Regions from separate parts of the Homo sapiens genome. Here regions 2, 3 and 4 are each linked to region 1. The links are contacts of gene promoters, found by promoter capture Hi-C in blood cells and fetal thymus (Javierre and others, 2016). All regions are on one chromosome and are shown on one strand. Each heading gives the region's core, a stretch centred on a gene start or on the middle of the fragment in contact. The rest is flanking DNA. Distances are from core to core; before and after follow the strand shown. Region 1 holds the start of PYCARD (PYD and CARD domain containing). Region 2 overlaps RNF40 (ring finger protein 40). Region 3 overlaps FBXL19 (F-box and leucine rich repeat protein 19). Region 4 holds the start of ARMC5 (armadillo repeat containing 5).

Region 1 (8,000 bases), core at 2,210-4,709:
AAGGAAAGAAGGAAAGGAGGGGGGAGGAAGGGAGAGAAGGAAGGAAGGAAAGAAAGAGAAAGAAAGAGACAGAAAGGAAGGAAAGAAGGAAGGAAGGAAGGAAATAAAGAGGAGATAGAAAGAGAGAAAGAAGAAAGAAAGAGGAGGGGAGGGAGGGAGGAAGGGAGGGAAGGAAGGAAGGAAGAAAGGGAAAGAAAGAAAGAAAGGAAAGAAAGAAAAAGAAAGAAAGAAAGAAAGAAAGAAAGAAAGAAAGAAAGAAAGAAAGAAAGAAAAGAGAGGCCGAGTGTGGTGGCTCATGCCTGTAATCCCACTAATTTGGGAGGCAGAGGCGAGCAGATCACAAGGTCAAGAGATCAAGACCATCCTGGCCAGCATGGTGAAACCTCATCTCTACTAAAAATACAAAAATTAGCTGGGTGTGGTGGTGCGCACCTGTAGTCCCAGCTACTTGGGAGGCTGAGGCAGGAGAATCGCTTGAACCTGGGAGGTGGAGGTTGCAGTGAGCCGAGATCACGCCACTGCACTCCAGCCTGGCAACAGAGCAACACTCCATCTCAAAAAAAAAAAACAGAGAGAGAGAGAAAGGGAAAAACAAAAGAAGGAAAGGAGGGAAGGAAGGAAGGAGGCATGCGAAGGACTGCAGACTAAAGGCTTATTTCTATTATTTATTAGAAGAGGTGACTCCTAGGTTGGGTGTGTTGGCTCACACCTGTAATCCCAGTGCTTTGGGAGGCCAAGGCAGGAGGATCGCTGAGCCCAGGTGTTGGAGATCAGCCTGGGCAACATAGCCAGACCCCATCTCTACAAAAAAATTAAAAAATTAGCTGAGCATGGTGGCATGCACCCGTAGTTCCAGCTACACAGGAAGCTGAGGTGGGAGGATCGCTGGAACCCAGGAGTTCGAGGCTACAATGAGCTATGATTGCGCACTGCACTCCAGCTTGGGCAACAGAGTGAGACCTCATCTCTAAAATAAAAGCAGAAAAGAAAAAGTGATGCCTGATGAACGTCAGAAGACAGGCAGGAACTCACCAAGTAGACCAGGAGGAAAAAGAGGCCAAGCAGAGAGCAGCTCCCACAGGGGCGGAGGTTCACGGATCAGCAAGCTGGAAGGGGCAGCTGAAGAGGTTGGCAAGGACCTTGAAGGCCAAGCCAAGGGCTTGGGACTTGAGTTTGAGGGCACTGGGGAGTCATGAGGGGGTCTCTGAGCCAGGCAGGTGCAGGATCATATGTGTGGGTTAGGAAGATGTATCCTTCTGGCCACAGTGCACAAAAGGAAATGGAGATTCTGGAAGGATAAAGGCCAGTGAGAAGGCATGATAAACATCCATGAGCCAAGGAACACTGGCTGTTGGACCACAAGTGCCACCCATGGTGAGGATGTTGGCACACAGCTTACCCCAGCCCACATGCTACAAGGATGGGGAGCAAGGCCAGGCACAGTGGCTCACACCTGTAATCCTAGCATGTTGGGAGGCCAAGGCAGGAGGACTGCTGAGCCCAGGACTTTGAGACCAGCCTGAACAACATAGGGAAACCCATTCTCTATAAAAATTTTAAAAACTAGCCAGGCATGGTGGCACAACTGTAGTCGCAGGTACTCAGGAGGCCGAGGTGAGAGAATTGCTTGAGCCCAGGAGTTCAAGGCTGCAGTGAGCCACAATCCCTCCGGTGTACTCCAGCCTGGGCAACAGAGTGAGGTCCTGTCTTCAAAAGAAAAAACAAACAACAACAACAACAACAACAAAAAGGCTTTCAGCAGGGTAGCAGAGCACTGCTCCCCATCGTGGTTTTTGTTTGTTTGTTTTTGTTCCTGTTTTGAGATGGAGTTTCGCTCTTGTTGCCCAGGCTGAAGTGCAATGGTGTGATCTCAGCTCACTGCAACCTCCACCTCACGGGTTCAGGCGATTCTCCTGCCTCAGCCTCCCCAGTAGCTGGGATTACAGGCACCTGCCACCACGCCCGGCTAATTTTTGTATTTTTAGTAGAGATGGGGTTTCACTCTGTTGGCCAGGCTGGTCTCAAACTCCTGATCACCCACCTCGCCCTCCCAAAATGCTGGGATTACAGGCATGAGTCACCGTGCCCGGCCCATCCTGGTTGTCTTGTTTGTTTTTGAGACAAGGTGTCTGTTGCCGAGTGGCACAGAGTGCAGTGGCACAATCATAGCTCACTGCACCCTCAACCTCCTGGGCTCAAGTGACCCTCCGGCCTCAGCCTCCCAAAGCACTGAGATGACATGCGTGATGAGCCACTGCACCCAGCCATGCTGGAAGCTTTTGAATACAACATGCTGCAGGCATCACAGCCTCATTCATTCCTTCACTCAGCAAATCTTTACTCAGCACCTAATGTGTTCCAGATACATTTTTTTTTTTCAGATGGAATCTAGCTCTGTCACCCAGGCTGGAGTGCAGTGGTGCAATCTTGGCTCACTGTAGCCTCTGCCTCCGAGGTTCAAGCGATTCTCATGCCTCAGCCGCCCTAGTAGCTAGGATTACAGGCGCCCTCCACCACACACAGCTATTTCCAGGTACATTCTTGACGCTAGGAATTCAGCAAAGAATAAGACAGTTAAGGTCTCCGATGCTCATAGGCCTCACATTTTAGAGAGGGATGAATGTCCAATAAGCATATAAACGTATAATATGTCAGGGTCGTATGACTACAAGGAACAGTGATTGTTACAACCCAGATGAGAGGGAAAAATAAAGGATTCCAAATATCCCCCTTGGGAAGTAGAGTCAGGATTCAAACAAAGAACTGTATGGCTTCAAGTTCATGGTCTTTAATCTCCTGGAGGCTGTCTCTCTTTCTTTTTTCTTTTTTTTAATCAGTGTTGGGATCAAATTCTGGCTCCCCTAGGAAGCATCTGGCAAGGTTTCGGGAGCCATCGGGTTGGCCATGTTATGCTGGAATATTTATAAGCACCGGAGGGTTATCCCCATGTCGTAGAAAATGAAACTGAAGCTCAGAGAGATTTGCACTCTCTGCCCTTTTGTACAACTCATTTTTCCCCAGTATGTGGAATTGAGGGAGCTTCACGCTTCTAGCTGTCATGATTCCAAGATTCTACGACATGTGGGAGAGGATCCTAAGGTTCGGGGAACCGCGGAGGTTTCGGGGTTCTAGAAATCCGAGGTTCTAAGCCTAGGTGCTCCAATAAACCCAGTGAGAGCCAGCCCAGGTTTCCGGTCTGTACCCGCTGGTGCAAGCCCAGAGACAAGCAGGCGCCACCCATGAGCCCCTCTGCGGCCCCCTCCCGGGTCCCACCTCGCAGGCCAGCTGGAGGGCGCGATCCTGGCGTCCCCCGACGGCCTGGGGCCCCAATCCAGAGGCCTGGGTGGGAGGGGACCAAGGGTGTAGTAAGGAAGCGCCTTTTGCTGGAGGGCAACGGACCGGGGCGGGGAGTCGGGAGACCAGAGTGGGAGGAAGGCGGGGAGTCCAGGTTCCGCCCCGGAGCCGACTTCCTCCTGGTCGGCGGCTGCAGCGGGGTGAGCGGCGGCAGCGGCCGGGGATCCTGGAGCCATGGGGCGCGCGCGCGACGCCATCCTGGATGCGCTGGAGAACCTGACCGCCGAGGAGCTCAAGAAGTTCAAGCTGAAGCTGCTGTCGGTGCCGCTGCGCGAGGGCTACGGGCGCATCCCGCGGGGCGCGCTGCTGTCCATGGACGCCTTGGACCTCACCGACAAGCTGGTCAGCTTCTACCTGGAGACCTACGGCGCCGAGCTCACCGCTAACGTGCTGCGCGACATGGGCCTGCAGGAGATGGCCGGGCAGCTGCAGGCGGCCACGCACCAGGGTGAGCCGCCCCCGTTCCCCTCCACCCCGTCTTTCCCCTCCACCCACACCAGCGCTTACCCCGCGGGCTCTTCCGCTTTCTGTTCCTCCTACCCCTAAACAAAGCTGCTCTACCGGAAAGGAGGCTCCCCACGCTTGGCCTACCGACCAACGGGACCCCGGCCCCACGGCGGGAAGGGAAGGGAAGGGGATCACTTGGCCCATATCCTTCCAGGCTCTGGAGCCGCGCCAGCTGGGATCCAGGCCCCTCCTCAGTCGGCAGCCAAGCCAGGTGAGGCCTCCACACCCAGCCCGGCCCCACCGCACTCCTGCACAGCCTGCATCTGTGCTCCCGCAACCAGGGCAGGGCAGGGCAGGGCAGGCACGGCTTGGCAACCCTGCGCACCCCACCCACCAACCCACACCCTGCGGGGGAAGGGAGACAATATTACCCTCATCCCACTGCATGTGGGGTCCTGGTGGCCGCCCCCTGGAGCCCTGCCCCTAGGCTTGCAGAGGAATTCCTGAAGAACTCAAGTTCAGCAGGGACAGGCCCCACACCCTGGCTGCTGGCTCATGTTCTCCTCCCACCCCCAGGCCTGCACTTTATAGACCAGCACCGGGCTGCGCTTATCGCGAGGGTCACAAACGTTGAGTGGCTGCTGGATGCTCTGTACGGGAAGGTCCTGACGGATGAGCAGTACCAGGCAGTGCGGGCCGAGCCCACCAACCCAAGCAAGATGCGGAAGCTCTTCAGTTTCACACCAGCCTGGAACTGGACCTGCAAGGACTTGCTCCTCCAGGCCCTAAGGGAGTCCCAGTCCTACCTGGTGGAGGACCTGGAGCGGAGCTGAGGCTCCTTCCCAGCAACACTCCGGTCAGCCCCTGGCAATCCCACCAAATCATCCTGAATCTGATCTTTTTATACACAATATACGAAAAGCCAGCTTGAACTTGTGTGTTTTCCTGCTTCTAGCCTGCTGGCATGTGCAGAGCTCAGCTATGCTTCAGAGGCCACCCAGCCTCCAGCTCCATGTCCCTAGGGTCTCTGGCACCCCAAATGCTTCCCCCATCCTTCCTGGTATCGCCATGGAATATCCCTCCTCATTCACCAGGTGGTGCTCCTCCAGTGCTCCCTAAAGGGTCTAACCTTACCATTATAGATAACAGCCTGTGACCCAGGTCCGAAGGTTAAAAGAGGCATGTACCAAAGGGCGCAAACTGGTGGGCAGCTCTGTCCAAGCCATTTAGAAACACACTAGTCTTCATAGCTCCCCTACCTTCCACATTTTCCACTGGAGAAAAATGCAGAATTAGAGAAATTTGCAGGGGGAGACACATTAGAGCATTATCTAAACATAGGACAGAAGAGCACAAGTCACCAAATTGCTCGAGGGCTCCTTCTGGTGCTGGCTCTTAACAGGCTTAAAGGCTCCCTCTGCCCCACCCCATCCCGTGGGGGAAAGGGTCATAGGTTGCACTTTGCTCAAAAAACATGCCAACCACCAAAGCAGATTTTCAGGAAATGAGTTGTGTGTGGTAGCTGCCTCTTTTCTTGATGCGATTTTTTTGGAGGGTTATTACTTATTCATTCATTTGAAAGGAACATTTAAAACTTTTTTTTTGAGATGGAATCTCGCTGTGTCACCCAGACTGGAGTGCAGTGGCGTGACCTCAGCTCACTGCAACCTCCACCTCCCAGGTTCAAGCTATTCTTGTGCCTCAGCCTCCCGAATAGCTGGGATTACAGGCCCCTGCCACCACACCTGGCTAGTTTTTGTGTTTTTAGTAGAAACAAAGTTTCACCATGTCAGCCAGGCTGGTCTGGAACTTCGGACCTCAAGTGGTCCACCCGCCTCCACCTCCCAAAGTGCTGGGGTGCTGGAATTACAGGCGTGAGCCAATGCACCCGGCCACTTTTTTCTTTTTTTTTTTTTGAGACGGAGGCTCACTCTGTCACCCAGGCTGGAGTGCAGTAGCATGATCTCAGCTCACCGCAACCTCTGCCTCCCAGGTTCAAGCAATTCTTGTGGCTCAGCCAGTCAAGTAACTGGAATTACAGGTGCTTGCCACCCCACCCGGTTAATTTTCGCATTTTTAGTAGAAACGGGATTTTGCCACGTTGCCCAGGCTGGTCTCAAACACCTGACCTCCAGTGATCCATCCACCTCAGCCGCCCAAAGTGCTGGGATTACAGGTGTGAGCCACCGGGCCCACCTTCTTGATGCAATTTTTGCCTACAAAGGGAAATATGAGTATCTCTCTCCAGGAAACTTGAGGTCTTTCCAGAGGCTGTTTGGGAAAGCAGGAATCTAGGGCTACTTCCTAAGTACACTTTACAAGCAATCCTTTCTGGCCTTGAAGAGGGAGGATTTGCAAAGCAATGGGCAGATACCAAGGAGACCCTGAATCCTATCCTTAGGAATCACCAAACAACCACTTTCCAACCTCACTGCCCCACCAGGCTTATCTCTAATTACATCTTATCTGCAACACACCTCCTACCTTGTCCTCCCTGCCTCTAGCTCCAAGAGCCTGAGAAATCCAAACTGATCATGGGAACAGACTCTCACTTTTTTTGAGACGGGATCTCATCTGTTGCTCTGGCTGGTGTGCAGTGGTGTGATCATGGTTCACTGCAGCCTCAAACCCCTGGGCTCAAGCAATCCTCCAGCCTCAGCCTCCTGAATAGCCGGGACTACAGGTGCATACCACCATGCCCAGCTGACTGTCATTTTTAACAGGACACCTAAACTCTCCTCCTAACCTGGCACTTAACCCCATGCAACCTCTCCTCTCCTCACATACCCACGATCCCACCACTATCTGCTCATACCAGGTGCCCTTGCACATGCTGACCCCTTTATCTCTGGACACCTTGACATCTTCTACCTGCCCCAGACTGCCCATACGCATGCGTTCCTCTGGGTTTCAGAGGCTCTTCCCAGTGTCTCTGTGGCAATGCAAACCATGTGCTGGTCTACCTTCACAGAAGACTCCACCACTCCCCTGCTTAAATGGACGCTTAAATGGAGACATCTTTTCAACCTCTGTACAAGTGCCTTGCATGTAGAAAGTAATATATGGCAGTTACTGTGTATCTCTAGTATCTAACAGGATTTTTTTTAAACTTCACAGGAACCTAATCATTCTCCTGACATGGGGCCATAGGTAACACATCCTTGCATGACAGACATCCTTAGAGTCACTACAAAAACCAGTGCAGGCCTGAGGGAAGGAAGTGGTTCCAAGAAAGTTTCCCTAAGATAAAACATTTCTTGGGGCTTCCTTTTTCCTTTGGGCTGTGGGAGAAAGAGTCCTACCAGAAGTCTCCTCAGATTTTAGGCATAGCATAGTGGTTAAGGACAGAAGTTCTATAGCTAAAGAATAGAGGTTCAAGTCCCTGCCCCACCTCTCACTAGCTGTGTCAGCATCCCCTCTAAAGTGGGAGTGACAGGAATCAGCTCATCCCCTAACAGCAACTGGCTCATGGCAAGTACACCTCAGAGTTAGCAATCACCTCCACTAAGACGATTCTGCTCCTAGCCCCTCAATGGCTTAGAACTGTATCTGGGAACCTGTGCTATCCCAAGAACAATCTAGAGTGCCCCTCTGGCAGCACCCCCAAACTCGTTCTGTCACTCCCAGTCCTAGTCGTGGCTCCATGGGTGTGGAAATCCCAGCCCCAGTCTGGATGGCCCCAGACAACTCCAGCATCTTGGGACACATCCCAGATAAGCTGAACGGCAGCCACTGCAAGCGGCAACATTCCTGCCAAGCCCCAGAACTGGATTTCAGAGACATTCAACAAAGTGAAGGAACAACTCAAAATCACCTTCCCCTAACACCTGAAGGGCTTTCCCATGCTTCTCTGAGGCCCTGCAGGAACCAAATCCCATCCCTGTGCTGAGAACTCCCTCCATGATGGTCCAGATCTCCCCACACCAGCAAAAATCCCACAAAGAGGACAGCATCCTCTTTTTTGCTCAAACCTCCCATTTAAGCTTCACAAGACTTAAAAAAAAAAAAACAGAACAGAAGCCAGTGTTGACTGGGCCTCTGCTAATTACAAAAACCCACACGCAGGGCCCTGTCTTCCTTTTCCTTAGCTCCTAGCCAGCATTTTATATAGAAATATAATCCTAGCACTTAGGGACGCCGAGCAGAGAGGATTGCTTGAGCTCAAGAGTTTAAGACCAGCCTGAACAACACAGTGAGAC
Region 2 (8,000 bases), core at 4,965-7,464, 440 kb after region 1:
ACTCCTTGATCTCCTCCTGGAGGATTTCGTCGGCATCTGCGTAGACCTCCACCTTCCTCTGCTTTTCCAGCTTGCGCCGCAGCCGTGAGATGTCCTCCTGGGGCAGGAGAGGCCTGGCTAAGGGCAAGGGTCCTCAACCTTGAGCCGCTTGCCCCCAGGATAGGTCCGTGACCGTGGACCACCCTGGCCTGGCCCCTCACCCCTGCACACACCTGAGCCCTCTTGAGGTTGAAGCTCTCTTTCTCACGAGCAGCCCGGCTCTCTGCCAGGCAGGGCTGGATCTCCCGCAGCCGAGTCTGCACGTGCTCCAGCTGCACCTTCAGGTCCTCGGCCAGCTGGGCGGCTTCTACAGCCTGAGTAGGGTGGAACAGGAAGGAGGCACTGGTCTGAGCCTGGTGACTCAGGCATGTGGAGTCACGGCCCACCAATGCTTCTGTCCAGGGCCCCAGTGACACCTGCCCTGGAGCTGCTCCTGCCTCCTGAGCCCTAAGCCCTCCCCTCCTGTTCTCCCTCTCCAGTTCCTCCCGTGTGATGCTGTTTTTTGGGGTTTCTTTGTTTTTTGTTTTTTTGAGACGGAGTCTTACTCTGTCCCCCACGCTGGAGTCCAGTGACACGATCTCAGCTCACTGCAACCTCCGACTCCTGGGTTCACACCATTCTCCTGCCTCAGCCTCCCGAGTAGCTGGGACTATAGGCGCCCACCACCACACCCAGCTAATTTTTTGTATTTTTAGTAGAGATGGGGTTTCACCGTGTTAGCCAGGATGGTCTAGATCTCCTGACCTCATGATCTGCCCGCCTCGGCCTCCCAAAGTGCTGGGATTACAGTCGTGAGCCACCACGCCTGGCCTGCTGTCTGGTTTTTGAGCTTTCACAAGGCTCTCCTCTCTGCTCCCCTCAACTTCCCCACCACACATGCAGCTCCCCTGGGCCTCAGCTCAAGTGTCACCTCCTAAAAGGCTCCCCTATTTTTCTTTGACAGCACCTCAGATTCCTGCACAAGGCTTACTGTGACATGCACTATTTTATTTGGGGGATTACTGGCCTGCTCTGCCTGCCAAGACCTGAAGTTCCAGCTTTGACTGGAAGGCAGGGACCTTCTTGTTCCCAATGTCTCCACAGCAATCAGCGCAAGGCCTAGTACATAGCAGGGATGTAAAATATGCTGCTTAAATGGGCCAAGCACAGTGGCTCACACTTGTAATCCCAACACTTTGGGAGGCCAAGGCGGGCAAATCACGATGTCAGGAGTTTGAGACCAGCCTGGCAAACACAGTGAAACCCCGTCTCTACTAAAAATACAAAAATTAGCTGGGCGAGGTGGCAGGCTCCTGTAGTCCCAGCTACTCGGGACACTAAGGCAGAAGAATCGCTTGAACCTGGGAGGCGGAGGTTGCAGTGAACTGAGACCGAGCCACTGTACTCCAGCCTGGGCAACAGAGCTAGACTCCGTCTAAAAAAAACAACAACAAAAAAACCACAAACATACTGCTTAAATGAATGAACTAACTGGAGAAGAAAACAGCTTCAGAGGAAATGGAAATCAATGTTAATCTTAAGCCTTTAGCCAAAGCTAGACATTTCTTCTATTTAATACAACTATGTGACAAAGAACATCATCCCCACTTTACAGTTCACCAGCGAGTGGTTAGAAGGTAGAGCCTGGAGTCAAGGAGGCTTGGACCCAAATATTAGGGCCACTCCCTCTTGAGCAGAACAATCCACCTCCCTGAGCCTCAGTTTCCTTATTTATAAAACGAGGCTAAAAACAAAATCCAGCCAGGTGCAGTGGCTCACGCTGTAACCCCAGCACTTTGGGAGGCCAATGTGGGTGGATCACAAGGTCAGGAGTTCGATACCAGCCTGGTCAACATGGCGAAACCCTGTCTCTACTAAAAAAAAATACAAAAATTAGCCAGGCGTGGTGGTGCGCGCCTGTAATCCCAGCTACTTGAGAGGCTGAGGTTGGGAGAGTTGCTTGAACCTGGGAGGCGGAGGTTGCAGTGAGCCGAGATCGCACCACTGCACTCCAGCCCGGGCGACAGAACAAGACTCCAACTCAAAAATCTTTTGTTTTTTTTCCCTAGGGACAGAGTCTCGCTCTTGTCACCCAGACTGCAGTGCAGTGCGATCATAGCTCACTGCAGCCTCAACCTCCTGGGTTCAAGTGATCCTCTCACCTGTCAGCCTGCTCGAGAAGCTGGGACTACAGGCGTGCACCAGCACACCCAGCTAATTTTAAAATTTTTTTGTAGAGATGGGGTCTCACTATGTTGCCCAGGCTGGTCTCCAACTCCTGGCCTCAAGCAAACCTCCCGCCTCTGTTTCCCAAAGTGTTGGGATCACAGACGTGAGCCACCACGCCCGTAAACACCATCTTGATAGGATTAGTGAGACTGAAATGTGACCAAGCATGTCAAGTACTCAGCATGTGGTCTGGCACATGTAAATGTTCAATATGTGTGAGCTGTTCTGTGACAGCCTGGCTTCACCTCAGGCTATTGCATCGGGTGCTCTGAGCAGAACCGGAAGGTGAGGAGGTGAGCCAGCAGCCCAAGCTGTGTGTCCCCCTGGCCCAGCCTCACCTTCCGCTTGTTGAGCTCCAGGGCTTGGCTGCGCAGCGTCAGCTCCTTCTCCACACCCCCGAGGCTGCCCTGCAAGGCTCGCTCCTTCTCCTCTAGCTTCTGCACAGTCAGCAGCTGGGCATCCACCTAAGGACCAGAGGAGGACTCAGGGCCATGACCCCCACCTCTCCAGCTCCAGTCTGCAAGCTGGCGGCGGCCATACCTGGGACTTGAGGCCAAGGACCTGCTCGCCCAACTCATCCTTCTCCTCCCGCAGCAGCTTGTGAATCTGGTTGGCCTTGATCCGCTCTGACATTAGCTTAAAGTTGGCATCATCCTTTTCCCGCAACTGCTGTAGCAGCCGCCCGTTCTGTTCCTGCATGTCCTCAAAAGCCTGACCTGTCACATCCATCTCTGAGAGCAGAGCCTCCTCCTCCTGCAGCAAGTGGGCAGAGACAAGATGGAACGTGGGAAGTGGACAGGATGGCTGTGGGGGAACCATGGGAAAACGCAGCGAAGCAAAGAACTACAGAGGGGACCCAGATCATCAAGGTCCTGCAGGCACTAGAGGCACCAAACAGGGTATGAAGGGAACTCCCTGCGCTCCGACGCGAGGGCACCACATGGGCCGCACCTGCTTGGTGGCACCCAGCTTGCGCTGCAGGTGTTCTATCTGCTCCTCTGCCTGCCGAATGCGCCGCAGGGCATCCTCATCCGCGATCTTCTTGCTCTCCCTTCGATCCCTCTCCTCCAATTCCCGGATGCGGCTCCGCAGCTCATCAACCTATAGCACAGGGAAGAAGAAACTCTCTTGACACTGCTTCCTGCTGAGCTAGGACTCTGCTCTGCCTTTCTGAATGCCCCACAAGCCCCAGCTGCCCTCACCTCGGCCTTAGCCTTGCGTTCCGCTGCCATGAGCTGCACCTTATCCCGCTGCTCCTTGGGCGCTGACTTGTACATATCCAGCAGCAGTTTCATCTCCTTCTGGCTCTCCTGGGCCTTCCTGGCAAGAAGGTACAGGAGGAAGTCTTAGTGAGTGGGACTGGAGGCCACCTGGCAGGGTCAGGAAGGAGACAGGAACAGAGCCTCACTTGAGCTCTGCTCGGAGACCCTTGAGGAGTTCTGATTCCTTCCGCTTGGTTTCTTCCACCTTGGCCTTCTCCCGATCAGCCCTTGAGAGAGCGGAGGCTACAGGTGGAGGTCCTAGGCTGGGACCTTCCCGTTCCCGAAGCTCCCGCTTGGGCCTGGCCTCAGGTTCTCGGCCCCGGGAGGAAGGGCCCTGGGCCCCAGGGGTTATACCCTGGAAGTCCTCTTCAGAGGGGACCAGCTCCTCCTTCTTCACTGAAGTGGTAGTAGTGGTGGTGCCAGGCACTGGAGCCATCTCCTTTCTGTTGTCGGGGGTACTGACAGGGCCTGGCCCACCCTCCTCTTTCCCTGGGGCTGGGGCACTGACGCCAGAATCCTCTGGGTGGCCCAGGTTGGGGGTGGAGTGGGCAGAGCCACTGGCCTGGGCCCGGAGCTGCAAAGGCAGAGAGGAAGAGGGATGAAGTCAGATGGTGTTCACTGGAGTCTAGCCAAACCTTTTCCCAGGCAGGCCCCTTCTCACCTTGCCAATCTCAGCTTGTACTTCTCGAAGCTTCCGCTTGTATCGCTGGGCGTCCCCTTTTAGCTGGTGGTTGTGGTTTTGAAGACTACTAATCAGGTGGCGCATCTCACGGTTGATGGGCCCTGGAGGAGCATCAGCAAGTAAAGGTGTCAGAACCAGTTCCTGGGTTAGGACTCCAACCCCTCAGTGGGGTAAGAGGCTATGCCATCACTCCCACTGTGCAGGAGGGGAACATTGCGGCCTCAACGGAGCATGAACTCATCAAAGTAAATAATGCTGACTTCAAGGAAACTCACCCAAAATTAACTTGACACTGCCTATTCATACGATTTTTGCTAATATAGAATATGTGGGGTTTTTTGTTTTTTTTTTAAATAGAAACAGTGTCTCACTTTGTTGCCCTGGCTGGTCTCAAATTCCTGGCCTCAAGTGATCCTCCCACCTTGGCCTCCGAAAGTGCTGGGATTACAGACATGAATCACCACACCTGGCCTAGGTTTTTTCTTTTTTTTTTTTATACATCCAATTCCCTTTAATAGAGAAGGTAACTGTAACATTCACAAAAGTTAGTTAACTTCTTCTAGATTCTTAAATATCACCTTCCCAGTACATTTCCCTGGCCTCCTATTCAAAATTGCAACACCCTTTCTCCTGATACTTCCTATCTTCCTTTTCTGCTTTACTTTCCTATCTGTCAAGAGCTAACACATTTTCCATTTTTCTTCTACTAGTTCGTCTTCCTCTAGTCTGTCTTCTATCAGAATGTTGCTCCACATGGCAGGAATTCTGTTTTGTTCACTGGCATAACCCCAAACCCTAGAACAGAGCCTGGCTCAGAGGTGGCATTTGATAAATCTTTGTAACACAAGTATCTGAGAGACAGAGACGTCATCAGACCAGAAGAATGAGGACAGGGCTGACAGCTCAGACTCTGCATGTGCCTGCTCCATCAGCCACCCCAGCTGGCGGACCCTCACTGTGCCTGGGAGCCAAGCAGTGCAGGCCCTGTTTTGCATAGGAAGCCGAGGCTCTGTGAAAAAAAAGGCCTTAGCCTCTTGCATCTGGATAAGCAGCAGCCCCACACCAGGGCCCAGCACTCCCAGATAAGGCCCCACCTCCGCCCTATCCTCACCACATACCCGCCTGCTCGTTGGCCGCCAGATTCTGCTCAAACTCGATGCGCAGCATCTCATACTCCTTGCGTACCTGGGCCAGCGTGTCCTCCAGCTGAATGACCTCTGTGCGTAGCTTCTTCTGCAGCCCCAGCTCGTCGCTCTGTGGGTTGATGTGTTAAGGACCCACACAGCCCCTCGGTCCCACCTCAGGACTCAGTATCTTAGGAAGAATCTATTCCCCAGGGACCCCTGGCTGGCACACAGGGCCTCGGAAGGCACAAACACGTCAACACTAACGGTTTGGCCCTTAGCCCAGCCCTAACGCCTGTTCCAGGGCCATACCTCCATGTGCTCGATGTGTCGCAGGTGGGAGTTCTTTGTGGCCAGCAGCAGGCCCCGAGCCTCGTCTAGCTGGGTCTTCACTTGCAGAGACTCGTTGTAGAGCAGTGAGAATTGGGCCTGCAGCATGCGGTACTCCCCCGTCTCCCGCACTACCTCCTCAGGAAGGCTCCGCAGGGCCACCTGGGGCAGGGATGCCCAAATGGGATCAGCAACAGGATTCAGGGCTCAGTCCCTCCCTTACAGGCCCAGGACCTCTCAGCCCCTACAGCAGCCCACCTTGAGGCGCTCATTGGTCCGCACAGCCCCCTGAAGTTCGGCCTGCAGTTTCTCCAGCTCTGCCATACGGCTGTTGGCCAGTTCCTGGTTTTCCTCTAACTCTGCATTCAGCATCTCAAACTAAGGAGTGGGAGGCAGGGCCATGGGAGGCAGGGCCAGACGTGGCAGCAGGCCTCCCTTACATCCCCAGCATACACTCCACCCCAAGCACCCCGTGCAGGGCAATGATCGATTCTGACACCCCAAACCAAGTACTTTCCTAAGGGCTCCCAGAAAAATGGGAGAAAATTCAATACTGCATGGTCGGTGCTGGGAACTAAGGCTCTTAACTGATGGGGAGTCACGGAAGGCATTCCAGAAAGGCCTAAAGTGCTAATAAAGGGAAAAAGGGCACAGTGACCACCAGATGCCAACTGACTCCAACTCACTCTTAGCTCTCTCTTCTGTGCTTTATCTTTGTGGTACTCATAACACACTGATATGCTATTTTACTGATTTCTTGTCTGTTACCACAAGTAGAACCTAAAGATATATTCTTTTATTTATTTCTTGTCTGGTCCATGAAAGTTTTGACCTCTATTTTGTTCTCGCCAATATGCCTAGTGCCTAGCACTAAGTGTTCAAAAATCTACTCAACAAGTATATGAATGCATGAAAAAAAGAGCAGCAGGAGTGACCAGGAAGGGCCTCAGAGATGGATGTTTGTCCTTTGTCCTGAGGGGAATTTCAAGAGTGCAACAGAGAAGAGGTTGTGAGAAGGGGTGGGAGGAAAACGCCGCTCACCTTCTGCATGCTGAGTGTGATCTGGCCCCCCTGGAAGCCTGAGGAGCTCCCAGATACATAGTAGCCAGAGTTAAGCTGTGGAGAGAAAACAGACAGGCAATGGATGTAGAGGGGAGGAGCTAAGGCCCAAGGGCCCAGCCTTGCCTCACCTGCCCCAGCACCCCTGCCCCACCTGCTCTAAGGCCTCTGCCAGGTGCTTATTGAGCTTTTGCTCTCGCTTCCGCAGCTTCTCGATGTCCCACTGCAAGTCCTCCACTGTTGTCTCCATCTCCAGCACCTTGGTCTCTGCCGATGTCACTTTATCCTGGAGCTCGGAGTACTGGGAACAATGAGGGAGCAGATGCTTGGATGGGGGACTTGGTTCCTGAGGTCCCTGAGTGCCCATCTAACCCAAATCCTGCCTGATTCTAATCACACCCCCAAAGCCCCCGGCTCCTCACCTCCAATGAGATGCGGTGGTGTTTCTCCTGCAGCTGAGTGGCCAAGTCCTGCAGTCGCCGGTTCTCACGGCCCAGCTCTCGGGTGTGTGCCTGAGCCGCCTCACTGAGGGGCTCACTGTCCCCTGGGAAGGCAGGGCCCAGGTAAGAGCCCAGCTCAGGGCAATGGGGCAAACAACTAACTCATTCTGGAGTCTGCTATATACCCAGTGTGATCCACCAGCTGTCTTGCCCATTTCTCATGACAAAGCCAGGAGTCTTTATCCCCACTGCACAGAGAAGGAAACCAGCTCAGAGAGGGGAGCCACTTTCCCAGCATGTCCAGGTGAGGGTGGCAGAACTAAGGTGGGAGAAGCCTGTCAACCTACAAGGCCTGAGCCCTTGAAGCTATGCCTTGTGGATCCGCAACCCACACCAAGTGCTCCAGAGGGGCCTCTGGCCAGGAGCCTCTACCGGCATCAACAACTCCTCCAACCCATCTCTCTAGCATTCAATCCCGGAATCAAAGTTGGAACCCCCATCTACAGCCTAACCTACCTCTTCCAAGAACATGGCTGATTTATTCCTTGGGAAATTCTGGCCGCCCTTGGACTCGGGCATTAGGGGAATCAGGAAGGGGTGCCATCAAGATGCAGGTGGGGATGGACACCCCTTCAGTATGGGCACAAAGAACCCACCTCGGCTGTACACTCGCTGACAGAGTTCCTCCACCCGGCGCTGTAGGCGGTCTGAGGCCTCTACCACACGAGACACAGCTGCCTTGGAGAACTCCATTCGGCCTTGCAGCTCCAGCTCCACCTCCTCACTGCTGCTGGCACCCAGTGCCACCACAAAAGCCAAGGCCGGCTCACTGAGAGGGGGCCGCAGCTGCATCAGC
Region 3 (8,000 bases), core at 1,636-4,135, 260 kb after region 1:
TACAGGCCGGGTGCGGTGGCTAACACCTGTAATCCCAGCACTTTGGGAGGCCGAGGCAGGCGGATCATGAGGTCAGGAGATCAAGACCATCCTGGCTAACACAGTGAAACCCCGTCTCTACTAAAAATACAAAAAATTAGCCAGGCGTGGTGGCGGGCGCCTGTAGTCCCAGCTACTTGGGAGGCTGAGGCAGGAGAATGGCGTGAACCCGGGAGGTGGAGCTTGCAGTGATCCGAGATAGCACCACTGCACTCCAGCCTGGGCGACAGAGCAAGACTTCACCTCAAAAAAAAAAAAAAAAAAAAAAAAATTACAAAAAAATTAGCCAGGCGTGGTGGCACACGCCTGTAGGCCCAGCTACTCAGGAGGCTGAGGTGGGGAGGATCACTTGAACCCAGGAGGCATAAGTTGCAGTAAGCCGAGATCTTGCCACTGCACTCCAGTCTGGGTGACAGAGCCAGATGGTCTCAAAAAACAAAAACAAACAAAAGGATTATCTTATTTCAGGGGACTGCAAATCTCCTTTTGAAAATCTTTCCTCAAACTAGACCTCTCCCATCCTGATTGCTCATTCAAGTTATTCATTCAACAGCTATCTATGGAGCAGCCACTGAGAACGTGCTGGGGGACCAGCCAGCGCTTGCCCTCAGGGAGCTGGAGACCCTGGCAGGAGGGCACAGATGTGCATCAAGGCACTCCACAATTGCCCAGTATTATGCTGGCGGGCTGCTCTCAAAGCTGAGAGGGACTCTGAGCTCAATGTGGGGTGGGATCAGGGAGAGCTTCTTGGAGGAAGTGGCATTTATACCCAGGCCTAAAGGATGATGAGATTTAAGTAGATGAAGAGAGATGGCCTCTGCTCCCAGCATCCCCCTCTGCCAATATGGGCCTCCTGCCCCACCAAACTGCTGAGTCTCACACTCCCTGGGAAAACCCTGTTCCTTTCAAGACTCAGTTCAAAGTACACAGCAGGTGGGTGAATGAATGAATAATGCCCAACCAGGGCCTTCCTATTCAAACTCATGTATTCTTTCCTTTCTTCAAATACTTTACCATCCAGCATGAGTCAGAAGAGACCTGAGAGGCCTCCTACCCTACCCTTGCCCAGCCCATTCTCCAGAAAAGCAAACAGAGGTTGCACCTGGTTTGGTGTCTGGTGGAGGCAGCAGCAACTCCCGGAGCTGGGAGTCTTTAACATCCTCGATCCAGCGGAGGTCCAGGAGCCGCAGGGCTGGCAGTGGGGCTGAGCCCAGGGCAGAGACAGAGAGCCAGGAGCAGCCAGAGAGCACCAGCTCCTGCAGGCCTGCGGAGAGGGGGCAGTCAGGAAGCAGGTGCTGTGAGGACTCCATCCCAGGCCTGTCCCTGTCCCCACCCTGTCCTCCGTACCACACACCCTACCTTGTAGTCGGTTCAGAAGCCACATGAGCTGCTTCTTGGAGACACCTGTCCAGCTGAGGTCCAGGGCACGGGGCTGGCGGCGAACCACACCACTGAGCATGGGCGGGGTCAGTGACTTCCGCCGGCTCAGGTCCATTCGAGGCCACAGACGCTTGTCATAGCACCTGGCGGCCATAGGGGGGAGACAGAGACCTCAGCCCTCAGCTCTCAGCAGCCCACAGTTCCCAGGCTCCCCAGCTCCAAGGGTGCACCCCAGCTCTCTTCTGGCCACACAGACAACAGGGTAGCAAGAAGCACCTGACCTCAGCCAAGAGCACTGGGATTGGAACCCAACTCCATCACTAACTGGAAATGAGACCCTGGGCAAGTCTGTTCCTCTCCCTGAGCCTCAGAAGCCTCGTTTATGATTGAAGGCAATAGCCCCCCCACTCTGCCTGCCCACAGGGCAGCTGTCAGGTCACATGGGCTCATCCCAGCTGTGGGCCTCCCAGCATAGAAAGTGTGCTGCCCAACACATACACAAATGCCACGCATGCTGCCTGATGTCATGCCAAGGGGACTGGTGTTATCCAGTCGTCTCCAGCCACCCTTGGGCTTCTTGATTCCTGACTGAGTTCTGGTGCTCATGGGTCCTTGCCTCCTTTACTCATCTCTGCTTCTGATCCACACCTGTCCCATCTTGACAGCCAGCTGCCCGCAGCTGGACTTACAGCCCTAATATCTTCCCTATTACATTACTGTGTTCCTCCAACTACAATGTAAATTCCACAAGGGCAGATTTGCGTTTTCCACTTTTTGAAAAAAAATTTTTTTTGAGACAGGGTCTCACTCTGTAACCCAGGCTGGACTCAGGCTCACCGCAGCCTCAACCTACTGGGCTCAAGCAATCCTCCCACCTCAGCCTCCTGAGTAGCTGGGACCACAGGCACATGTCACCACGCCTGGCTAATTTTTAAACAATTTTTTTGTAGAGACAGGGTCTCACTATGTTGCCTAGGCTGGTCTTGATCTCCTGGCCTCAAGCGATCCTCCTGCCTTGGCCTCCCAAAACACTGGGATTACAGGCATGAGCTACTGCACCCAGCTGCCCATTTGTAATGAATGAATCAAGCTAGTAACTACTTAAAGCTTCCACTGACCACTCTCCCCCACCTCCTCATCTACAGCATTTCATTTATTCACTCTGATTATAGAAAGCGTTATAGGTCCCAAGTATTGAAGCTACAAAGATGAACGAGTCCTAAGCAACATTAAACAGGTTTCCTAACCCGAGCACTCCACAGGCCTCAACAGACTATCTAACATGCAGTGGGCTGGGTGCAGTGGCTCACACCTGTAATCCCAGCACTTTGGGAGGCCGAGGTGGGTGGATCATGAGGTCAGGAATTCGAGAACAGCCTGGCTGTTCTACTAGTGAAACCCTGTCTCTACTAAAAGTACAAAAAATTAGCTGGGCATGGTGGCGGGCGCCTGTAATCCTAGCTACTCGGGAGGCTGAGGCAGGAGAATTACTTGAACCCGGGAGGCGGAGATTGCAGCGAGCCGAGATCGCACCACTGCACACCAGCTGGGGCAACAGTGAGAGACTCCATCTCAAAAACAAACAAACAAACAAACAAACAAAAAACATGCAGTGAACTGGAGAAGGGCCTCTCAAACGTACTTCCCCAGGAATCCTTCCCCACCTCTCCCAAGGTAATCTAGTAACATTTTGTAGTACACTGAAGTTCCTTTGGACTCAGTTTGAGAACTCTCTTCTCTGAGTTCAGTAGTTCTCAAAGGCATGTCCAGAAATGCCTCTGAGACTCAATAGACTGTGTCAGAAGCAGCAGGCCCAGGAAGCTTTTTTTTTTTTTTCTTGAGACAGTGTCTTGCTTAGTCACCCAGGCTGGGGTGCAGTACTGCGATCACAGCTCACTGCAACCTTAAACTCCTGGGCTCAAGCCATCCTCCTACCTCAGCCTCCTGAGTAGCTGGGACTACAGGCACATGCCACCACACCTGACTTTTTTTTTTTTTTTGAGACAGAGTTTCGCTCTTGTTGCCCAGGCTGGAGTGCAATGGTGTGATCTTGGCTCACTGAAACCACCATCTCCCAAGTTCAAGCGATTCTCCCGCCTCAGCCTCCAGAGTAGCTGGGATTACAGGCATGCGCCACCACGCCCGGCTAATTTTTTGTATTTTTAGTAGAGATAGGGTTTCTCCATGTTGGCCAGGCTGGTCTCGAAATCCTGACCTCAGGTGATCTGCCCACTTTGGCCTCCCATAGTGCTGGGATTACAGGCGTGAGCCACTGTGCCTGGCCTATTTTTTTATTTTTAGTAGAGACAAGGTTGTCCAGGCTGGTTTTGAACTCCTGAGCTCAAGCGATCCTTCCCTTGGCCTCCCAAGGGAAGCTTTCTCTTGCCTCCCTCCCTGCCCTCATGACTCTGAAAGGCTTTTCCTTGTAGAAGCCCTGGGCTGGGGCAGTGATTCCCAAGCTCCAGTATTTGCTGTTCACTTATCTGCGTAACATGATTTATCTTTGAATCATCTCCTCTTTGCACTTAAAACCAGTATTGTTGCCGGGCGCGGTGGCTCATGCGTGTAATCCCAGCACTTTGGGAGGCCGAGGTGGGTGGATCACTAGGTCAGGAGATCAAGACCATCCAGGCTAACACAGTGAAACCCCGTCTCTACTAAAAAAAAAATACAAAAAATTAGCTGGGCGTGGTGGAGGGCGCCTGTAGTCCCAGATACTCGGGAGGCTGAGGCAGGAGAATGGCGTGAATCTGGGAGGTGGAGCTTGCAGTGAGCCGAGATCGTGCCACTGCACTCCAGCCTGGGCGACAGAGCGAGACTCCGTCTCAAAAAAAAAACAAAAAAAAAAACCCCAGTATTGTTTCACATAAATATGTTAATCTTAAAAATAAACACAAAAGTCCAAGTGTGGTGTAATCCCAGCACTTTGGGAGGCCAAGGTGGACAGATCACGAGGTCAGGAGATTGAGACCATCCTGGCTAACACGGTGAAACCCCATCTCTACTAAAAATACAAAAAATTAGCCGGGCGTGGTGGCGGGCACCTGTAGTCCCAGCTACTTGGGAGGCTAAGGCAGGAGAATGGCATGAACCTGGGAGGCGGAGCTTGCAGTAAGCCGAGATTGCGCCACTGCACTCCAGCCTGGGTGACAGAGCGAGACTCTGTCTCAAAAATAAATAAATAAATAAATAAAACACAAAAAAGACCAGAGTTATTAAATCCTAGCCAGGTGTTGCTGTGGCTTTAGGCTACTACCTGAAGACTACTTTTGTTAAACAGGGAGATAAGTATCAGAGAAGTGTTAGAAAAAGCACCCAATAGTGGCCAGGCGCAGTGGCTCACGCCTGTAATCCCAGCACTTTGGGAGGCCGAGGCAGGCGGATCACGAGATCAGGAGATGGAGACCATCCTGGCTAATACGGTGAAACCTCGTATCTGCTAAAAATACAAAAGATTAGCCGGGCGTGGTGGCAGGCGCCTGTAGTCCCAGCTACTCAGGAGGCTGAGGCAGGAGAATGGCGTGAACCCAGGAGGCGGAGCTGGCAGTGAGCCGAGACTGCACCACTGCACTCCAGCCTGGGCGACAGAGCAAGACTCCATCTCAAAAAAGAAAAAAAGCACCCGATGGAGAGACTTCCTTCCAATGGAAAGACTTCCTTTCCAAAACTCACAGAGGGATTAAGCCATATTTTTGTGTCACTGAAAAATGCCAGACCTACTCCAGAGGCCCAGTGTGTCATTTCATTATTTTTTTCAGACAAAGTCTCACTGTCGCCCAGGCTAGAGCTCAGTGATGCAATCATAGCTCACTGCAGCCTCAAACTCCTGGGCTCAAGTGATCCCCTTGCCTCAGCCTCCCATGTGGCTGGGACCACAGGTATGCTTAGCTAATTTTTTCTTTTTTAATAGAGATGGGGGTCTCACTATGTTGCCCAAGCTTGTCTTGAACCCCTGGGCTCAAGCAATTCTCCTGCCTCAGCCTCCCAAAGTGCTGGGATTACAGGCGTGAGCCACTGGGCCCAGCCCTGGTGTGACGTTTTAGAGAAGGCTGAGGGCACAGACACCAAGGCTTCAGTCCGAACACCTTCACCCCTCTGCCACTCGCTCTCCTGTTCCCTCCTACCCTCATCCTGCTTTTCTGGCATTCTAGCCTCTCCCTCTCCTGATTCCTTCCTCTCAACTAATAAACATCTGCAAATCTCTCCAATTCAAAACATGAAAAGGAAAAAAACCAACTCATGCCCGACCCAGCTTCTACCCCTAGGTCCTGCCCCTTTGCTCTTTCTGTGAGCAAGAAAATCGGTGACATCTGCTCTATCCAAAACCTCTCTCTGCCCACTGTGACCCTGCCACGACTGCCTCCCAGCTTAACTGTCACCACTTCCTTGAAGCCACTTCCCTTCCACGGTCCACAGCTGGAAGGAAGCCCCTTTCCCTGGGGGCACCCACAGGACCCCAGTTGTGTTTCTGTATCATACTCCACAACAGCCAGGCCACACACCTGCCCACCTATAGACACAGTGCTGTCTGATGCCAACACGTTGTGGCACATGCTGTGCCTCTGCCAGAAATGCCAACCCAGAGCCTTCGTGGCTCGGCTCCAGTGCCTCCTCTTCCAGGAAGTCTCCCACACCTTCCTTGGCTACAGCTCATCAGTCCCCCTGCTCTTGTACAACCAGGACACTGGGGTTAAACCTCAGAGGGACAACCAACAGTCACTGAGGGCCCTACTGATCCCAAGTATCTGGCTTCCACTGGGCACGGAGGAGGCAAAGATGACAGGTTCCTGCCATACAGTCAGGGAGACATGGACAGTCCGCAGTAACTGAGGTGACAAGGGGCATGGTAAGAGTCACCTCAAGGACTGGGTGGGGGAGCCTCCTGGGGGGACAATGCCTGACCTGAGACTCCGAGGAAAGCAGTAGTTATTTCAGCAAGGGGAGGGGGAGGAGGGTGTGTGTTCCAGATGGGCAAGAACCTGTGTCCAGGCCCACAAGAGACAAGACGGAGAGCTCTGGAAACCCCAGGCCACAGGAACTCATCATCATAACCAGAGTCACGCTGATCACAGTGACTTCAGCACTACTAACCAGCCATCATCCAGGGTTCACTGTGTGCCAGGCACTGTCCCATGCATTAAGCACTGAACCTCACGCCAGCCCTAGGAGGTCAACATTACCATCATCATCTCCTTTCTACAGTAAAGAAAATGAGGCAAGCGTGTGCGGTGGCTCACGCCTGTTAATCCCAGCACTTTGGGAGGCCAAGGAGGGCGGATCACGAGGTCAGGAGTTCAAGACCAGCCTGGCCAACATAGTGAAACCTCGTCTCTACTAAAAATACAAAAATTAGCTGGGTGTGGTGGCACGCGCCTGCAGTCCCAGCTACTCAGGAGGCTGAGGCAGGAGAATCACTTGAACCCAGGAGGCAGAGGTTGCAGTGAGCCGAGACCACAGCATTCCACTCCAGCCTGGGTAACAGAGTCAGACTCTGCCTCAAAAAAAAAAAAAAAGGTCGGGCGCGCTGGCTCACGCCTGTAATCCCAGCACTTTGGGAGGCTGAGGCAGGTGGATCATGAGGTCAGGAGGTCGAGACCATCCTGGCTAACATGGTGAAACCCCGTCTCTACTAAAAAACAAAAAAAAAAAAAAAAAAAGAAAAAAAATTAGCCAGGCGTGGTGGCAGGCACCTGTAGTCCCAGTTACTCAGGAGGCTGAGGCAGGAGAATGGCGTGAATCCGGGAGGCGGAGCTTGCAGTGAGCCGAGATTGTCGCCAGCCTGGGTGACAGAGTGAGACTCCGTCTCAAAAAAAAAAAAAAAAATGAGGCCCAGAAAGGTTGAGAAATGTATTCAAGGTCCCACAACTACCAAGTGGTAGGTAGTAGAGGCGGGGTTCCACCTAGCCCGTCTGGGTGGAAAGCCTGAATTCTGAGGAGAGAAGAGGCAAGAGTGGAGCTGCAAAGGAGGGATGGGTGTCATGTCAAGGAGGGCTGGAATGCCAGGCCATAGACTATCATGGTCACAGAGCCCAGAGCTGAGGATGTGAGCTATGGGGATCTAAATCCCAGCTCTGCCACCTCCAGGCTTTGGGGGGCCTCAGGCAAGTCACTCGCCCTGTGTGGGCTTCCATTTCCCAAACTGTACAGTGGGGTGAAGAACAGCGCTTCCTTCAGAGGTTGCTGTGACAAGGAAGGGACACAGCTCAGGGAAGTGGTTGGTGCAGTCGGTAGGCCCAGTTCATGTCCATATGTCCAACAGGACTGCGATGGTGGGCGTCTGTTGTGAGGGCGACAGGGAGCCACAGGTGGGTTCTTTCTAAGCTGGAGAATGACACTGAGACAAGAGGCAGGGAAAGCTCTAAGAGCCAAGGTGTGCCGTCGTCCCAGAGACATGTGGCTTGATGCCAAAGTCCCCTAACCCATTCACTTCCTCCTGGACTCCAGCCACCCCGCAATGAGTCCTCTCCTACTAGGCCGACCTGCAAACCCTCAATTCCAATCCTAACCCTCCCTCTTGCAGAAGCCCCCGGGAACAGGGAGCTGGACCAGCCCTTACTGCCCTCTGAAGGCTCACGGCCCCT
Region 4 (8,000 bases), core at 1,946-4,445, 260 kb before region 1:
AGCAGCTTCTCTTCCCTCTTCTTCCTCCTCACCAGCCTCACCACACAGCTGCCCAGCCAGGAGAGGCACAAGTCCCAGAGCCTGCAGCCGGCCCAGGGCCCCAGTGTCATACAGAAACCCCACAAGGGCAGCCACAATACGAGGGTGCCATGCGCTTGCACGAGGGTCCCGCAGCAGGCCCATCAGTAGATCCAAGCCACCAGCATCCCGCAGTCGGGCCCGGTTGATGGCCTCACGACATAGGAGGCACACAGCCCGCACCAGGGGCTGCTGGGAGGTTGGGCTAGCTCCATTAGGATCCCGGCGCTGCCGGAGCTCATCTACCAGCACCTCCACGCCACCAGCATTGCCCAGTGCAGGCCGAATCAGGCCCTGGGCACACAGGTTGGCGAGGATCAGAATGGTTCCCTCGCGTACTGCCCGCTTGGGGTGGGAAGCCAGGCTGACGAGTGGGCCCAATCCCCCACCCAGACTTAGCTGCTCAGCACAGGCCCGGGAGCAGCCTCGGCTGAGTTCCAGGAGGGCACGGACGAGGGCTAAGGTCAGTGCAGCATCTGGGGCAGTGGCCAGGAGCTCGGCCAGCGGACGCACTGCTCCCTGCTGTGCCAAGGCCAGGCGGTGCTGGGGTGAGTCTGCCAGGTTACGGAGGGCACGCACCACGCTCTGTAGGCACTGCGAGTCCTGGCAGGCTGTCAGGCTCTCCACAAGCAGGGGAACAGCACCTGAGGGCAGGAAAGGGGAGCACAGAGGGTGAACAAGGACAGACACTCAAGCCTTTCTTCTGCCCCAAGCCCTAGCAGACCCCAACCTCACAGCCTCTTACCAGCACAGTGGATGTCCCCACAGCTCTCAGGTTCCATGGCTAAGTTCCCCAGGGCACGGGCCGTTCGGTTCTGGATGCTGTCTGTCTTCATGCACTGAAGAATGGTCACTGCAACGACAGTTTGGGCTTGTGAGGGTTCTACCCCTTACTGTCTCTCACATCAATAACCTGGAGAATGTGGCCTGAGAGGGCCTGGAAGGCTTTCAGAAGAGGCTAATGGTCGGCAGGGCACCGTGGCTCAAGCCTGTAATCCTAGCACTTTGGGGGACCAAGGTGGGTGGGTCACTTGAGGTCAGGAGTTCAAGACCAGCCTGGCCAACGGGGCCAAACCCCATCTCTACTAAAAATACAAAAATTATCTGGGCATGGTGGTACACGCCTGTAATCCCAGCTACCCGGGAGGCTGTGGCAGGAGAATTGCTTGAACCCAGGAGGCAGAGGTTGCAGTAAGCTGAGATCGTGTCACTGCACTCCAGCCTGGATGACAGAGCAAGACTCCATCTCAAAAAAATAAAAAGAAAGAGGCTAACACTCGGGCTGGGTCTGGAGGGGTACACAGGAAGGTATTTGCCAGAAGCACGGTGGATGGGGGTGTGAGAAGGCATTTCAGGTTTGGAAGCAGCCTTTCCAAAGGCCCAGAGGTAAGATACAGTGTCTGTGAAAGGCTTCAAATGTCAGGCCAAGGGGTCAGGACTTGAATGTGAAGGCACTGGGGGCCACACAAGGGTTTTATGAAGGGGAGTGACACGATACAATCTGACATCCATAGGGAGAATGCATTATGGGGAAAGAATAGGAAGGGGGGAGTCAAAAGGCTGTCATAATAGTCCAAGCATGAAAAGACAATAGCTTGAACCAACCCAGCTACTGGCATCACACAGCACAGAGATACCAGTCTCTGGGCACACAATGGAAGTAGGAAGAGAGAGAAGCAGATAAATTCAGAAGATATTTAAGATGAAAAATAGTAGCTGAATGATGGGGGTTATTTAATAACCAAAGCTCTTGTCAAACATATATGGTCCAGATACATTTTATGTAAATTTTAAATATATTAATGCTTCCCTTTATCCGAAAAGTTAAGATGTCATCAAAACTAGCATAATTTCGTGGAAGGCAGGTAGTGACATGTAAACTGCTTTCACACATTGCCACTAGGAGGCACCAATTTAGCTGGTAAACAGAAAAGCTTATGTTTTGCTAGGATTTGTTCTTACTGTGCTGGTTTTAATTATTTTTATTTATTTTTTCCTGCTTCCTAAGCGACTACTGATTTGTTTGGTTTTCTAAGATACGAGGTCTTGTTACGTTGCCCAGGCTGGAATGCAGTGGCTATTCACAGGCAGTCATTGTTCACTGCAGCCTCAACCTCCTAGGCTCAAGGGATCCTCCCGCCTCAGCCTCCCAAATAGCTGGAACTACAGGCGCGTACCACTGCACCCAGCTTATGCTAGTTTTTAATAACTTGAAATACGTATCATGCTTAGAATATTTGCATATTCGTGCCATATTTGTACTTCGTTTTCTCCCCACTCTGATTTTTTTAGGTAGCTATTATTGCCCCATTTTACAAGGAATCCTAGCCTCGGAGGGGTTAGGTGACTTTTGCAGATCTCCCTTTCTGAACCACTACACCTTCCAGCTCATCAGTGGGGCTTCAGAACCTTGCACAGGGCCGGACACATAGTTGGGCACTGAATGTCTGCTATGAACATCATAACTGGACGGTAAGAATCATCTGAAAAAATCACCAAATAACTCTTTGGCCTCCGCTAGTCCAGCTTCGAAAGAAGTCCTCAACAACCAATTCCTAGATAATGGCTACAATTATCTGGTCTGGGAGGGCTCTCTCTCATCTATAGAGAGTGCAGTGACGTCACGGGGCACAACAGATTGAGAAACAGGAGCGATGCGCCATCACAAAGCACGTTATTCCGGGATAGGACACAAAGAACTCCAGACTGCCCGGGTCTAGAGAGCAAGGGAGTTGCAAACCTAATCTTTCTAGGAAACGGGGGCGGAGCACTTACCCAAAGGGAGTATGCCTCCGAGTCTGCGCACTTCGGTCCGGCACGCCCCTTCCGTACAGCAATCGGCTAGGATGCTGAGCGCCAAGTCCAGCGTCTTGCGCAGGCGCACTGGCGGCGTAGGACTAGACGACGACACAGCGGAGGGGGCGGGGCCCGACGCGGGGGCGGGGCTAGAAGCTCCCGACGCGGCCGACGAGGGGGCGGAGCCGGGGCCTGCCTGGGACGGGGCGGAACCCGCTGCAGCCGCTCGCCGTAGCAGCGCGAGTAGGGGGCGGAGCCCGCCGCGTGCCCGGAAGCGCTCGATTCCCCCCGCTGCCTTGATGTGGCGCGTGCGGAGGGCTAGGAGCGCGCGGCTCAGGGGTGTCTCGTTGGTCGCTGGGTCCTTTTCCCCACCCAGAGCCTCCCCGGCCGCCGCCGCGAGCTGCGCGAGGCAGAACGAGAGCGAGTCCGTGAGGGTTGGCTTCGCAGCCGCCATCTTGGCTCGGGCCTCAGACTCCGCCCCGCTTCTCGCCGCTGATCCCAGGGAGCGGAACTGGAAGACAGGGAAATCGTCGGGCACCGCCTCGCTGACGCTGTTTAGCGCCACCGCAGTGATGCAAGTCGGAAGTTGTAGTTCTCGACCCCGGAAGTCTGTCCTTGCACACGAGGCGCGGCAGTACCTTAATCGCAGCGCATCCTGGGACGTGCGGGCGGTGCATGAGGGAGATGTGGTCCGCGTCGAGCTTCTCACGCCTACCTCGGGAAGCGCTGGAAACTCTTCCAGGGCCCTCCAGGTGGGCCAGGGCCTCCGAACAGCCCAGAAGTCCGACCACGGAGCCTTCGTGCCGTGCCCCGCCCCCGGCGTGCACTCGGCGGGGACCGCCTTTTCTCCTCTAGGCTCGCTTCGCTGCCCCCCAGCGGTGGTGCGGCCCGGCCTTGGGACGGACTCCGAGAACCCCGAGCCGGGCCGAAAGTGCGGGGTCCTGACCGCGCCGCAGACGGGGAGCCCTCGCTCGGTCAGAGGAAGAAGAGGGTTAAACCTACCGAGAACGTTCGCTGCCGCTTCCTAGAGTGACGGGCTTGTGGAATTTTCCGTTTCCGGAGCTGGACCCCGGTGTCCCGAGTGTCCTCCGCTCTGGACGTGCTCGTGAGCTCAGGAGCTGGCATCTAGGAAACGGGGAGTTCTTCACTCGCAGCGCAGTCGGCCGCGCCAGAAGAGGCGAGGGAGAATCCGGACGGGGCGGGGCGGCGGGGGAGCGGGACATTCGCGTCCCGGGGAGCCCCCAGGTCACCCCTGGATTGCGAGGTGGCTCCGCCTGAGCAGCCCTTCCTGGTGTGGTCGGGGCAGCTGCCCGCCCGGAAAATGGTCAGGCTCTAGCCCTGGGGAGGAAGAAGCCTTTGCCAAGAGCAACCGTCTACAAGCCCCAAAACCTGCGAGTGCCGGAAATGTGGACTGACCACAGCCTGCCTCCCCGGCTTCATTCACCACCAAGGCAGCCCCTCTGGTGACAAGCCTTACCGTTGTCCGGGTTATGGCAGAAGCTTCCGATGTGGCTCTGATCTGGTTAAGCACCACTGGGTACACACCGGTGAAAAGCCGTACTCCTGCCCCGAGTGTGACCATCGCTTCGGCCCTATGCCTGTGCCTAGTGTGGTAAGACTTTCAGCGTCAGCTCCAACCTGATCCAGCACCAGCGCGCTCACACCGCTAAAAGCCTTACCGCTGAGGGGACTGCGGCAAGAGTCTCAGCCTTGGCTCCACCCTGTTGCAGCACCTGCGCTCCACATGGGTGAGAAGGCCTCTAAGTGCCTTGTTTGTAGTAAGAGTTTTGTGCACAGTTGGAATCTGCTGCGGCACCAGCACAGTCACAAAGTCCGGAAACCTGATGCTTGGTGGTGAGTGTGGCCAGACCTTCGGCCACAGCTCCCACCTGCCCATCCACTAGGCGGCCCACAGCAGCACCCCTGCGTCTGCCTGCAGTGTGGCAGGGCCCTAGCGCAAAGCTCCAACCTGGGCCAGCACCAGCGGACGCACTAGGGCGGCAGCCTCTGCAAATAGCCCTGGCTTCAATTTTAGCTGAAACTTCAGCTCTGACTTTGGTTCGGACTTCAAGGAAATGGAAGGAACCAGGATCTCTAAGCAGACCCCCTTCTGCTCCCTTAGGGCTGTTGATTTTAGAGCTAATGATGGGATTCGGTTGGGGCGAGGGGGTCTCCACATCTTTTTGCCCAACCCTTTGCTAAGTCAAGGAACCCCAGTCTGGGCTGGGCATGGTGGCTCATGCCTGTAATCCCAGCACTTTGGGAGGCCAAGGTTAGCGGATCACTGGAGGCCAGGAGTTCGAGACCAGCCTGGCCAACATATTGAAACCCTGTCTCTACTAAAAAAAAAATGCTAGGCGTGTTGGCTCTCGCCTGTAATCCCAGCTACTCGGGAGGCTGAGGCAGGAGACTCACTTGAACCCCGGGAGGCGGAGGCTGCAGTGAGCGAAGATCGTGCCACTGCACTCCAGCCTGGGCGACAGAGAGTGTCTCAAAAAAATAACAAATTTAAAAATTGTTTTTAACAAAGGAGCCCCAGTCTGGAAGAATCAGAACACTAGATCTGTGATCACTGCCTTCAAAGAGCCCAGTCAGCTGAGAGGGCTTAGGTTTGTTCTTTGAAGTTACAAAGACAGAACGTCGACCAGCTGAAGGGAGAGTTTTGGAATGGCGGGAGCTATCCAGCGTGGACCCAGCTGCCTGCAGATCTGGCAGTAGCTGACACAGTCCCTTCACAGGCCTAGGGAGTGATGGGGTTAATCACACCTAGAACAACAGCTACCTCTTCCCAGAGGAATGGGACCAGAAATCAGGCAAGCCCCTGTGAGGAGTTCCATGGCAGCGCGCAGGCGGGGCATTCCTAACCTCCAGAGGGAACCATGAGGGATCCTGTGTTCTGGCAGATGGGCCAGAGAATTTGAACTTGGGACCATTGTGTGAGCCCTGGGTGTGTGAGCCCTTCAAAAGTCCTCTCAGCACGTGAGAACTATCATTATGGATGATGCTAGGGTGGTGGGGGCCCCAGAACAGACCTGTATGTTGAGTTCAGGGGTTGCTTTGTTGCATTTCTGGGCAGGGGCAAGAGGCCCAGGGTTTGTCATCTGCCCCTTCCCCTGCCTTATCCCCTTCCCTTCCAAGTTCCCCAGGCTCCTTTTCTGCCAGTCTGTCAAGAGAGGGAAGAGTGGCGAAGAGTCCTTTGTGCCTGGACATTGGGGACTGAACATGGCCCTTTTGCCTGGGCATTGCCCAAACATATATTTCTACTGGCATAACTTTGTGTATGTGAGAGCCAGGGGTAGGCTTCCCAAAGCACCTGCCTGTGCTCAGAGTAGACACCAAGCTCTGAGGCCCTTCCCTTCCCTGCTGGGGGAGGGAGTTGTCTGTTTCAAGGACCTAATGTCCACCCCTTGTGGGACAGTCCTACCATCAGTCCAGGCATCTGGTCTGCTGCCCCCAAATTTTACCATCTTTTTTTTTTTTTTTTTTTTTTTTTTTTGAGACGGAGTCTCACTCTGTTGCCCAGGCTGGAGTGCAGTGGCACGATCTCAGCTCACTGCAACCTCCGCCTCCTGGGTTAAAGTGATTCTCCTGCCTCAGCCTCCCGAGTAGCTGGGACCACAGGCTTGCGCCACGATGCCAGCCAGTGTTTGTATTTTTAGTAGAGGGTTTCACCAACCCTCTACTAAAGACCAGCCTCTAGTTGGTCAGGCTGGTCTCGAACTCCTGACCTCAAGTGATCCATCCGCCTCAGCCCCCCAAAGTGCTAGGATTACAGGCATGAGCCACCACGCCCGGTAATTTTGCCATCTTTTATCAGGCTTTCTGTGTCGAGGACGCTACCCACATAGAGTAGAACCTAAAGGGAAGGGATGTGAAGTGACCTCACCCTCAGCTTCTAGCTCATGGTGTCAAGGCTTGTGTGATCTTAGACACGTCTGCCTCTTCTGAGCCTGTTTCTTCATCTGTAAAACAGGGATGGGAGGTTGTGGTAAAGATTCCACAGCAACACTGCACACGCATGAAGTACCTGGGCCAGGGATGACTCGGCAGACCTCAGTTTCCCTCTGCCTCCTGCCTAGAGCTGTTAGCAAGCATCCATCATGCGGCTCACACAAGAGCTCCCCCCGGAGGTTACAGAAATGAAGGCAGCAGCCCCAGTCCTTGGGTAGCCTGTTTCCCCTTGAAGGAAACAGACTCAATATCAGCAACACAGAGTGAATGACGCCAGGGTGGCGAACGGGCCTTTCCTGGAGCAAATGCGGGAGGCTTCATGGAGATGACGTGTAATGAACAGCACTCATCTCAGGCTGGGAGCAGCACATGCCCCCGGCAGGGAGTCAGTGATGAGGTATGGGGTTCTTGACATCTTCCTCACCCAGGACCCTTCAGAGAGTACGAGCCAGGGTTTGAGTGAAGGGCCTGAGCCCAGCACATGCATGGTAGGCACTCAAAGAATAATTGTCATGATCAGGTCCTTTTTACACTGCTTACTAGTGGCCTTTAAGCCTCAGTTTCCTCACAGTTGCCTTGAGTGAGTGTCAAGTGTTGTAGACCTCTGCAAAATTCATAACTGCTTAAGAATATTAGGTATGGGTAGAGTAGGCTTGGAAGGAGGATTGGTTTGCAGAATCCCTTTCAGAGACCTGTAATCTAATTTCTCACATTAGGGCTAATACTCCTGGGACCCCTCTCCTCTCCAATTGCATAAAACAGGTTCTGACCAGAACAGCGAGGCAGGCCAGACCTCAGAAGCAGAGGGACGGGCTTAATCTAACAGGAGTTTATCCCATGTCCTGCATCCACTGTACCCTGTGCTGGGTTTAGAAGTAGCTTCACTGTCCAAGCTTGTGACCCAGTGCCCAAGCCCGAGATGGGAAACACATTTGTTTTGGCTGTGTGTGTGTGTGTGTGTGTGTGTGTGTGTGTGTGTGTGTGTTTTCAAACAAGCCAAGATTTTTACTTTTTGAGTTCCATTTTGTTGCCCAGGCTGGTCTCTGAAACTTCCAGGCTCAAGCAATCCCCCTGCCTCAGCCTCCCAAAATGCTGGAATTACAGGTGTGAGCTACCATGCCCATTTATTTATTTATTTATTTATTTATTTATTTTTGAGACAGAATCTCACTCTG

The links. Contacts are between HindIII fragments. The CHiCAGO score rates a contact against its expected background, and 5 or more counts as called.
Region 2: a fragment that was not itself captured here is called in contact with the fragment with the promoter of PYCARD in region 1 in 1 of 17 cell types (total CD8 T cells); the score reaches 6.0 in total CD8 T cells.
Region 3: a contact is called between a fragment that was not itself captured here and the fragment with the promoter of PYCARD in region 1, in 7 of 17 cell types (monocytes, M0 macrophages, M1 macrophages and 4 more). The highest score is 9.0, in monocytes.
Region 4: a contact is called between a fragment that was not itself captured here and the fragment with the promoter of PYCARD in region 1, in 17 of 17 cell types (M0 macrophages, endothelial precursors, M1 macrophages and 14 more). The highest score is 29.9, in M0 macrophages.

Annotation. Positions count from the first base shown.
Region 1 is chr16:31,198,219-31,206,218 of GRCh38, reverse strand. It overlaps PYCARD (PYD and CARD domain containing), which reads left to right and starts at 3,459. Exons shown (of 3, transcript NM_013258.5): 1 at 3,459-3,802; 2 at 4,016-4,072; 3 at 4,378-4,733. The coding sequence starts at 3,529. The coding sequence ends at 4,634. PYCARD-AS1 (PYCARD antisense RNA 1) reads right to left here and starts at 4,334. Exons shown (of 2, transcript NR_102400.1): 1 at 4,233-4,334; 2 at 2,767-3,759. RefSeq lists a silencer at 3,109-3,468 and enhancers at 3,579-3,808, 3,998-4,628. The HindIII fragment of the contact is 5,508 bases long and covers 2,279-7,786 here.
Region 2 is chr16:30,764,186-30,772,185 of GRCh38, reverse strand. It overlaps RNF40 (ring finger protein 40), which reads right to left. Exons shown (of 20, transcript NM_014771.4): 5 at 7,801-8,000; 6 at 7,127-7,248; 7 at 6,859-7,005; 8 at 6,687-6,761; 9 at 5,904-6,023; 10 at 5,628-5,807; 11 at 5,310-5,445; 12 at 4,171-4,292; 13 at 3,656-4,083; 14 at 3,450-3,567; 15 at 3,199-3,348; 16 at 2,788-3,000; 17 at 2,586-2,711; 18 at 213-353; 1 more. Among named protein-coding and RNA genes, the nearest start is that of RNF40, 5.9 kb to the right of the region's middle. RefSeq lists a silencer at 2,743-2,939 and enhancers at 7,408-7,908, 7,909-8,000. The HindIII fragment of the contact is 4,024 bases long and covers 4,203-8,000 here.
Region 3 is chr16:30,935,678-30,943,677 of GRCh38, reverse strand. FBXL19 (F-box and leucine rich repeat protein 19) reads right to left here. Exons shown (of 11, transcript NM_001382779.1): 8 at 1,399-1,562; 9 at 1,142-1,303. Among named protein-coding and RNA genes, the nearest start is that of ORAI3, 9.4 kb to the left of the region's middle. RefSeq lists an enhancer at 172-1,114 and a silencer at 1,539-1,668. The HindIII fragment of the contact is 714 bases long and covers 2,529-3,242 here.
Region 4 is chr16:31,454,853-31,462,852 of GRCh38, reverse strand. ARMC5 (armadillo repeat containing 5) reads right to left here and starts at 3,352. Exons shown (of 6, transcript NM_001105247.2): 1 at 2,854-3,352; 2 at 824-931; 3 at 1-722. The coding sequence starts at 3,328. RefSeq lists a silencer at 2,804-3,153 and enhancers at 3,344-3,683, 3,682-4,222, 4,870-5,438. The HindIII fragment of the contact is 2,362 bases long and covers 2,015-4,376 here.